Linked DNA regions of Homo sapiens: all the other regions are linked to region 2. The links are contacts of gene promoters, found by promoter capture Hi-C in blood cells and fetal thymus (Javierre and others, 2016). All regions are on one chromosome and are shown on one strand. The core of a region is centred on a gene start or on the middle of the fragment in contact, and the rest is flanking DNA. Distances in the headings are between cores, read along the strand shown.

Region 1 (3,493 bases), core at 333-2,832, 1.1 Mb after region 2:
AGCAGACAATTTTGTTCTGCTCTGGCATGAAAAAAAAAAAACGTTTTAATCGGCAGCTAGGATAGCAACATGAAGCAACACACAGGACATCAATTTCATCATGCAAAATACCGGTGTATTATATTACAGGGGCCAAGCATTCCAAGGAAAAGTAATGATCTAAGAAGATGCTCTTGCATTTTAAAAATATCTACTAGTGTTATACAGTCATTAATGTATAATTTCCATTTCAATAATAGGAAGCCTTCTGGGAAAAAAAGCTTGTGTTGCTTCTTAAATCTAGAAACACATTCTCAAAATTCAAACAGAACAAAATCCAGAGGCATATTAATAAATATTTTCAACTCCTAACCGCAGTCACTTTTTAATTGGGCATTTATGTATTTCTTCAACATAATTATATTTATAATGAAAAAATGTTGAGAATACTGGATTAGCTGCATTTGTAACTACAACATATTTTTCTAAACAGTATTAATTCAATTGATAAGACTTTAAAAAAGTTATAGTAGTTTGTTCTATCATATATGCACATTAAATAATCATTTATTTTAGAAAATCCTCCCTCATAAAATGAACATTTAGGAAAGAGACTGATCCATATTTTTAACAAGAATAATAAACACACAAGTAGAAAGCCTTTATAATTTCCAAGGGGCTGATCAATTCCATTAACAAATCCTGATACTTTAAATGTTTGCAATGCCATACATAGCAAATGATCCAAACAGCAGTTATATTCTCTCATGTAAGTCATTCTGTTGCCCATACACAGAGTTAGCATGTTACAAAACTCTTGTGAAATTTCAGTTGAAACATTAGCAAATAAATTTGCTGGTAAAGTGCAAGAAGTTTCCTTATAAACCCTAGATGAGGAAAAGTCTGTCCACAGTTCGTTCATCAGAGGAATGGAATTTCTCAAATGAGCTACTGAACAACATTATCTAATAAAATGAAATATAATGAAATGGTGCCACTCATTTTAAAGATTAAATATATCCTTTGACAGAAACCTGTGAAGTTAAAAATCTTTCCCTCTTAAAATACCTTTTAAATTAAAGCTATTCTAACTAGTTATATAGCATTCCACTTAATCTGCTTAGTTTTTAGATTGAGCTCACCTAAATACAAAATACTGTCAAACACCTACAGGGCAAAGAACTAAAAAAAGAAAGAAAATTTCACAAGCAATAAAATGCTATTCACCTTTCTCCTCCCATACTTGCCTTTCCTATATGAAACAAAGAAAATAATTAGTGATGTTCATTATTGGTAGTGCTACTAGTATTTGTATTGTGAACCTGTAACATATTTTTAAATCTCTACACTTTTATATAATTGATTCTTTCTTGAAAAGTAATTATTTCAGAAGACTTCTAATAAAATAATCATTATTGTATATGATTCTGTTAAAAATAGAAAAAACAAACAAACAGAAAAAACTCCCTGCTGAAAGATATGGCCATTTTATTAGCTGTGAAAGGAAAGAAAGCTTCCAAGGAAAGATCTTGGACCATGAGAAAAAATTTCAACCAGGCTGTTTGCTGGCAAGAGGCCATGCCAGCCCCAGCCAGTCCTGCGTGCAGAGCATGTTGGCAGATGTTATTAGCTGACTTTTGTTGAAAAAGTATGGAAGAACAGTTGGAAAATCACAAGGTGTAGAACAAGCTTTAAATAAATAAATAGCTTATCTGGCAATAGAAAGGGGGAAAGAAAACAAGTTCCTCGGTTGAGGAAGAGGACTGGGATACTTCTAATTACAGAGTTTCTTACTGTTGGTTTGTTTCATGGGCTGACTCTCAATGAGAATTGAAATTGTATCATCCACATTTGTATTTGGAGGTTCTAACTGCAGAATTGCAATTAATTTCCAGTTTGCTGTAGGAAATTTATACTCTCTATGACAGAATACCACGGACATAGGTGATAATTCTTTAACCTTCTCTCTTTTGTCCCCAGTCTGGTAACTGAGGCAGTACATGGGGAAAGTGCTAACTGCCAATCCAGAGCTGCTGACACCTTAAAAACACTGGCCTTTAACACTAGGATGGCCCCAAGAAACAAGCAAACAGGAAAAGATGACACCTGCTAGCGTGTGACAGGCACAGCAAGTAAATGTTCAATACGGATATGAAAATGCAACTGCATAATAAAAGTCAACATGAAAAAGAAAAAGATTGCAAAATATACTTTCTCAGAAGAAACCATCACATGATGTTTAAAAGTGGTGGTTCCTTTAGCATTGTCTACTGATGGCTGGCAACATACAGGAACATAGAGGTGGCCCATTTACATCCTCATAAAAGTGGGATGTAAGTGATCACAAAGCCAATAAAACTACACCACATTTTCTTCAAGCACCAAGATAAGAATCCCTTCATCTTTCCTGACTAGACATATTGCTAGGCAACATTTGTGAACGTAAGAAAAGGTAACAAGATCTAAAAAGAACGCCGAAGCATAATGTTCATAAAGGTGGCGCCCCCAACACACACAATCATACACACATACCTATACACACACAATCACACAATCTATTATATAAACAAACACGCACACATGCACACATAGGTGCACAGACTTAAAATGGCATTTCTTGAGGTATTTTTTTTTAAGGTATGATTTAAAAATGGAAGATCAACTTTAAACACACCTTTTTGAGGCACACTGGGTGATATTTGCCACAATGATTATTCTTCCCAAATTCAGGCTACTGATCAATAATCCTAACTGTATACATGCTAAAAATAAAAACGCTATAATCTTTGTACTAGTCAGGGCTCTCTTGGCACATAAAATTAGCCAACACAATCTTCAAGTCACATGTTACAAAAACATATTAAAATATATATCACTCTTTCAAAAATTACACTTATTTTCTCTTAGATTAAGATTTTATTACTTTTAAGATACTTCTATGAATTATAGAGGACATCCAAAAGTAAACATCCGGGACTTAAAAACAATAACCAATATTATAAGATAAATTATTGCTGTAAATTATTTCATGAAGGCACAATTAAAAAAAAAATAAAATAAACAGCCAAAGCCTGTTTTGTTGAGTTTTCTTCGTTGCGCAGGATCGGGAGCTTGCTGGGATCTGAACTCAGGAAGCCCTCACCTCACCCTGACTTGGTCATTGAGGAGACGTAATTGCAGGGGTGCTTATTTGCTATAGGCTTTGAAAGTCACAAAAGCCCAGTAGATACATGAATTCGAAGCAGTTCTCCAAGGGCATCTCCAACTTGGCAGTCACCGCCCGCACCGCGCACACAGGTAGTGGACGCCCGCCCACCTGCCCGTCTGCTGGGCGCAGGGCGCTCCTGGGGTGGGGAGGGCGCTCCTGTGGGGGGAAAAGGGGCGCTCCTGCCTCGGAGGGGGAAAGGACGCCCCTGTGGAAGGAAGGGGGGGCTCTTGAAGCGGTGTGGTGAGAGGACGCTTCCGAGGAAGGAAGGGGGTGCTCCTGCAGCGGTGGGGGGAGAGGACGCCCCTG
Region 2 (3,299 bases), core at 690-3,189:
AGCTCTGCCACAGGCATGCAGTTTGCCCTTGGACAAATTCCTTGACTTACCACCATCTCTGTTTCACCATTCCCAGAATGCAGCCTAGCAAGTAATCCCTCCCTTTCATTACATGGAGGACAAGATACACTCACGTCCTTTCGCAAAATGGGACACCTCTCTCCTAAGAAAGATGGAAATCAGGGGGATATATTTTAAAGAGATTAGATTAAAATCAACATGGCATGTGAGAAGAAAAATGATTACGTTCTAGAGTAAACAAAACCTGAAATGAGTTTATAGTCTATTCTCACCCTTTTGGTCCAAACAAAAAAGTATTGCTTGATTATTCTTTCCTGCTTCACTAACAGATTACAAACTCCCTGGGAGAAGATAGATTCTATGTGTCATATTTTCCATTCATTAGCAATTGCTCACTGAATTGAAATATTTGCTACTTCCCCACTATAGAGTGTTTCTCAATGTGTTTCATTCAGCATTGTACTCAACAAATGTTTGCTGTATGAAGACATGTCTGTGTTGAGTGTTTACACCACTAGTTAACAACTTCCCTTTGTTAAATCTTAGGTTTCTATTTTTTCGTTTTATTAACCAATGCTGCAATATGCTTTCTCGTGCATCAGTACTTCCCTAGACATCTAATTGCCTTGTTCAATTTGTGACGTAGAATTTTGCAAAAAGGAAGTTTACACAGCGAAAAACTATATATACAAATGAAATAAAATACATGATTTAAAAAGACCGCATATTTAGAAGCAAAGGAAATATTCATAAACATTGTGGTTATTCCTCAATAGTGAAATTACTGATGCTTTCATAATCAGAATAAAATTACATATGTAATAAAGTCCGTGATACTGTCATTCAAAATAGGGGATTTGGTACTCCCTTACATTTATACAGTTCTCAACAAAAAGCCTTTTATTGTTTGCTCTGTCTGGTCTTCTCGCTTATCTCTTAAACTTGCAAACGTATAGTCCTAGCCCACCGCACTCGGTTCCGAAGAAGGCGTCCCTCGGACAAAACCGAGGAATCTGTCCTGCTCTGTAAGGAACTAGGGCTTGCTGATTCCCAGATTTTAACGAGAATCCCTGCTCCCCGTAGGCGCTCCATAAATTTTTACTGGACAACTTCACCGCGCGCTACTGGGCCTCCGGGAGACCCGTGACTCCCACCCGCTCTGGGCGCGGGCCCGCAGAGCCTCAACCCGCGCCCCCGGCAGCCGGGATTCCCCGCCCGGACCGGCTCCCAGGCTGGAAACATCATGGTCCGCACCCGGGGCGCAGCCGAGACCCACCGCGCCGGAGGCCCCGGGACCCGCTCAGACCGCTGCTTGGCCACTCTACGCCCCTGAGCCCCCCACACAGCCAGCCCCGTGACCTCCGAGCCCCGTGACCTCCGAGCCCCGTGACCTCCAAGCCCCGGAAGCCGCTGTAGGCAGCGGCCCAGCCAGGCCCCGCCCCCTCCACCGGAGCTCCACGCGTCAATTCCAGCCAGGCCCCGCCCCCGGCCGCCCCAGGCGTGGACCCAAGCCAGGCCCCGCCCTCTGCCTGGCTACTCCAGGCGCCCACCGCCCCAGGCGTCCTCTAGCCCAAGCCCAATGCCCGGCTGCTCCAGACGTCGACAGCCCCATGCCCCGCCTCCTAATCGGCTGCTGCTGGCGTCCTCTGGTCCAGGCTCCGCTCCCTACCCGGCTGCTCCAGGCATCCTCTAGGCTAGACCCCGCCACCTACCGGCCGCTCCAGGCGTCCGCAGCTCCAAGCCCCGCCCTCCGCCCGGCTGCTCCAGGCGGCCTCCGGCTCAAGCCCCGCCCCCTGCCCGGCGGCTCCAGAGGTCCGCGGCTCCAGGCCCCGACCCCTGCCCGGCTGCACAAGGCGTCCTCTGGGCCAGGCCCCGCCCCCAGCCCGGCCGCTCCAGGCCCCGCCCCGCCCCCTCTGTGCGCGCTCCGCTCGGCAGCCTGTGGGACGCGACCGCGGCGCTAGTCTCGTTCCTTTGTGCTGCGGCGGCGGCTTCTCGAGTCCTCCCCGACGCGTCCTCTAGGCCAGCGAGCCCCGCGCTCTCCGGTGACGGACCATGTCGGCGGCGGGAGCGGGCGCGGGCGTAGAGGCGGGCTTCTCCAGCGAGGAGCTGCTCTCGCTCCGTTTCCCGCTGCACCGCGCCTGCCGCGACGGGGACCTGGCCACGCTCTGCTCGCTGCTGCAGCAGACACCCCACGCCCACCTGGCCTCTGAGGACTCCTTCTATGGCTGGACGCCCGTGCACTGGGCCGCGCATTTCGGCAAGGTGGGTGCGAACGCTTTAAGGCGCCATTTTCCCCGGCTGTCCAGTGGGAGTCGGGGAAAGCGGGTCTGAGGTGCGGGGGACGTGGGGCGTGCCGGGATCGCGGGGCGGAAGCGGGATCGACGGCGCCTGTGCCCCGAGGGGCCTAGGGCGCCTGTGCGGCAGCGCTCGCGGCCCGGAGTCGCGGCGGGGCAGCCGGGGGGCGCGGGGCGGAAGCGAGGTCGGTGGCGCCTGCGTCCGGAGGGGCCTAGGGCGCATGTGCGGCGGCGCGCGTAGCAAGTTTCTAACAAGGCGGGCTCCAAGGGTCCCGGCGCCTGTTGGCCGGATCCTGTGCGAGCGCGCGCGCGCGCGGATGGTGCGGGGCCCTCCAGGCCGGGCCGGAGGCGCGAGCGATTTCGCAGAGCCGGGTATTAGGCCGCGAAGTCGCCCAGGCGGCTTCCGGGGAGCCGAGCTGGGGTCAGAGGCGCGCGGGGAATGCCCGGGCGCGGTCGACCTTCTGGTTCCGCACAGCCTCGCCAGTAGCCGAGGGCCGCGCTGCGGACGAGCTCAGCCGAGGAGCAAGCGCCCCGGCGGGACTGGAAGGCCCCGGCAGCTGTGTGGGATGGAGGCCGGCTCTCCAGCTTCTGGGTTTGCTTTAAGGCTTGTAGCTGGCCCCGCTTCAGCAAAATTAGTGACGGCTGTGTTTATCTTGGATCTAAATTACTGCAGAAGTGGTTAAATTAAGCAGAATTCTCTTCCCGTGGAGGCTTTACGTTCCCCTCTTTTTTCTTAAACTGAAAATTCTGGGGGAACACAGTGCTGCTTTAAGGTTTTAAAAGGTTGGATAGCTACCGTTTCCTCATCTGTGAAGTCGTTGGGGTACTTGCTCTCAGAAATCTTAAATAAGATTTCACCGTGCATTTCAGAAGTGACTGGTTTTAATTAATATTTCTTAATTCACTGAAATTCAGGGATGTGTATAGTGTTTTTCTCGTAAGTGATGAGATGGGGTTAAATGGTTTTGCAGAAATATGTGAGAG
Region 3 (3,211 bases), core at 568-3,067, 1.7 Mb before region 2:
TTTTATCTAAATTATCTATTTTTTTAAACATTTTAAAATTTCTTTGTGATATTTTTAGTTTCACCATGGACCCTTGTATGTTATTTCTTTTATTCCTGATTTGGCATATTTCTGTTTTTTTCTTTTCCTTTTGGCTTGTCCAGTCTAGCAAATCTGATCAGTTTGTTTTCCTAGAATCAACTTCTTTTAGTTTCTTCTGTTTTCCGTATTTGTCTTACTGTTTTCTAGGTCACTGTTTGCCATTCGGATCTTTTTTTTTCTTTTTTTTGAGATGGAGTCTTGCTCTGTCACCCAGGCTGGAGTGCAGTGGCATGGTGTCAGCTCACTGCAATCTCCGCCTACTAGTTTCAAAGGATTCTTCTGTCTCAGCTTCCCGAGTAGCTGGGATTGCAGGCACGCGGCAGCATGCCTGGCTAATTTTTGTGTTTTTAGTAGAGATGGAGTTTCACCATGTTGGATAGGCTGGTCTCAAACTCCTGACCTCAGGTGATCTGCCCTTGGCCTCCCAAAGTTTTGGAATTTAGATAAAGTCTCTCTCTCTGTCCCCCAGGCTGGAGAGCAGTGGTGTCATCGTGGCTCACTGCAACCTCTGCTTCCTGGGTTCAAGTGATTCTCTTGCCTCAGCCACCTGAGCAGCTGGGATTACAGGTGCGTACAACTACGCCCAGCTAATTTTTGTATTTTTGTAGAGATGGGGTTTTACCATGTTGGCCAGCCTTGTTACAAACTCCTGACCTCAGGTGATCCACCCACTTTGGCCTCCCAAAGTGCTGGGATTACAGGTGTGAGCTACCGCGCCCAGCATCCATTCTGATCTCACTCCCCTTCCTTCTACTTAGTTTGAGCTTGATTTGGTTTTCCTTTTCTAGATTCCTGGTGCGGAAGCTTAAACTATTCCTTTAATCTCTTTCTTTCTAATGCAACGATCAAAACTTAGCAGCATCCCGTCAATATTTTGAAATGTTTCTTTCTTTTTCGAAACTAGTTTTATTGAAACAGAGTTGGAATGCAACATGCTGCCTGGAAAGTTGGCTGGCTGCAGCCCAAATGCCCTGTGGGATCTTTCAGGTCTGACCACGGGTGATGACAAAGGCCCCACCTGGCTGCCTCATGGTGTGTGGCCAGTGCACTGCCGTGTCTGAAGGCTGTTGCGGGGAAGGACCTGGGTGCCCTGGGTATCCCCTGTGCCCAACCCAGGCACCTCCCTTCCGAGACCACATGGGTCCCTTGGCTGAGGCCTGTCTTAGGTACCTCTGCCAAAGCCTCCTTTTCAGGGGGCCTGGAAGACATTTTTCCCACTCTGACTTTGCATTCAGCACTTTTCCACTCTCAGCTGCCTCCCTCTCTCTCTTCCCCTGACTCCAGGGCCATAGAATGGCAGAAACCTTTTGTTAGGGGCTCTCTGGGCAGTGAGACAGTATCCCTTCACTGCTGTCTTCACAGACACACCTAACCTTCACCCAGTGCCGTGGGGGAAAATGAAACACCAGGGTGGGGGCTGGCACTCTCAGTGAGGCCTCTGGTTTCTACTCCTGCCGGGAGTGACACCTGCCTGGTGGAACCTGCGTTTGGCCTTTGACCCACCCACCACCCGGCACCTGGCAGCCGGCCCCTCTCGCTCAGCACCTCACAATGCACAGATTAAAAGTGTGTTGTTTGTTACATTTAAGAACCAGTATTGAAGCATTATGAATCAAAGTCCATACTTTGAATTATTCAGACTACCTAGTTTTATCTACTATCTATGTCGGTTGTGAACTATTCCATCCTATGTCCAGGCATAATGCAGAGAATGGTGTCCTGGCCACCTTGGGGGTAACCATGGCCATAGGTCATTATCACAGAGTCCAGATGTTCCATCTGGAGCCAACCAGTAAACACCCGGTCACTATGCCCACTCAGTGGCATGCCAGCCAGGACTCTGTAACACAATGGTGTAGATGCACTGTTCTCTGGGTTCCATCCCGTATCTCCAGTGCTCCTGGGCCAGGGATCTTTGATATGATTCTTTTGTTCCCAATGTAAAGGGGCACGTGAACTAAGTTGACCCAAAGAGAGGGTAAGTCAGGTGAAACCATCCCAAGTTTGTGTTATGCCATCCCGATATTGAGTGGTCTAATCTCTCAGCTGGTGTAGTACCAGCATTAAGGTATGTGGACTTTTACTGGAAAGCTCTTCCTATGGCTTTTGCTTTGTAAAGTATCATTCATAGGCCAGTGATGCACACTTGCCTTCATCATACTAGTGCTAAGCACCAATGACTGTCCTGAGAAACACAGACACATTTCTGATATTCTGTCTACTCTTGTCCTTGAAGAGGAGCTGCCACCATGGTAGGCCAGAACCACCAGAAAGGGGCGCAAGGCCACACACCTAACGAGTGTTGTCCTGTAATTTACTAGCACAGGCCCAAGCCTACTGCAAGAAGATGTTTGTTTCATGGGCAATGGCTGGTGATGGTAGCAACAAAACAGAAGAACTAGGGACAAAAAGAAGGAAGTGTGGTGGGAACTTGTAAAGGAAGACCTTCCTCATCTACTGACGATGATTATATTAAGGGTTTGTCTAGATACAGGCCTGGTCAGGTGTCTTGAGAAGGCTGATCGCCTCACATGTTGTTTTCTTCTCATCCTTGTTGGTTCTGGAGAGTTTTAGTTTTAGATCACCAATTTGAGATGAAGTCCAAATTGACAAAGCAGCTTTCCTTGCATGGGTGGCAGGTATCCAGGAATCAACTCCTTTAAGCTTAGTGGCACAAGGGTTGGTTAGGAGTCCCTGATAAGGTTCCTTCCTCCTTGGTGGAGAAAGTCCTTTAAAGGATGCTGTTTCCTACAAAGTCTCCTGGCTGAAGTATGTGTTCCTTGAGTTTTTGCTTCTTGGAGCTCACTGTGGAAAGAATCTTTTACTAAATAACAGTTTTTACTTAGGTGCCTTATGAGGCTGCTGCAATAATACAACCTGTCCCTTTTTAATATCATCGATTTACAATTTCCTGGAGACAATTTCATAGGTCTGTCCGTTATAATTTCAGATGAAGACAGTTGGTGTTTACCCATAAGGGCTGATCTTAGGTGAAGCAAAAACAAGAAAGAGCTTCCAGTCAAGGGAGTTTTAAAACTTCAGTTAATTTTGCCAAATGAGTTTTGATTATTCTGCTTGTGCATTCTACTAACCCAGATGACTGGGGTGATAGGCACAATGGAAATGCTGG

The links. The method cuts DNA at HindIII sites, captures the fragments that hold promoters and counts their contacts. A CHiCAGO score of 5 or more calls a contact.
Region 1: a fragment that was not itself captured here is called in contact with the fragment with the promoter of ANKRD10 in region 2 in 1 of 17 cell types (total B cells); the score reaches 5.4 in total B cells.
Region 3: a fragment that was not itself captured here is called in contact with the fragment with the promoter of ANKRD10 in region 2 in 1 of 17 cell types (naive CD8 T cells); the score reaches 5.3 in naive CD8 T cells.

The regions. Positions count from the first base shown.
Region 1 is chr13:109,787,597-109,791,089 of GRCh38, reverse strand. LOC124903211 (WAS/WASL-interacting protein family member 1-like) reads right to left here. Exons shown (of 2, transcript XM_047430835.1): 2 at 94-3,490. The coding sequence ends at 3,253. Among named protein-coding and RNA genes, the nearest start is that of IRS2, 2.8 kb to the right of the region's middle. The HindIII fragment of the contact is 176 bases long and covers 1,495-1,670 here.
Region 2 is chr13:110,913,709-110,917,007 of GRCh38, reverse strand. It overlaps ANKRD10 (ankyrin repeat domain 10), which reads left to right and starts at 1,939. Exons shown (of 6, transcript NM_017664.4): 1 at 1,939-2,283. The coding sequence starts at 2,074. RefSeq lists silencers at 1,098-1,257, 1,388-2,047, 2,318-2,687 and enhancers at 625-1,299, 2,798-2,927, 2,651-3,299. The HindIII fragment of the contact is 15,206 bases long and covers 1-3,299 here.
Region 3 is chr13:112,590,730-112,593,940 of GRCh38, reverse strand. It overlaps LOC124903251 (a long non-coding RNA gene), which reads right to left. Exons shown (of 2, transcript XR_007063945.1): 2 at 1-3,211. It also overlaps a transcript of TUBGCP3 not described here. Among named protein-coding and RNA genes, the nearest start is that of TUBGCP3, 4.2 kb to the right of the region's middle. The HindIII fragment of the contact is 1,860 bases long and covers 888-2,747 here.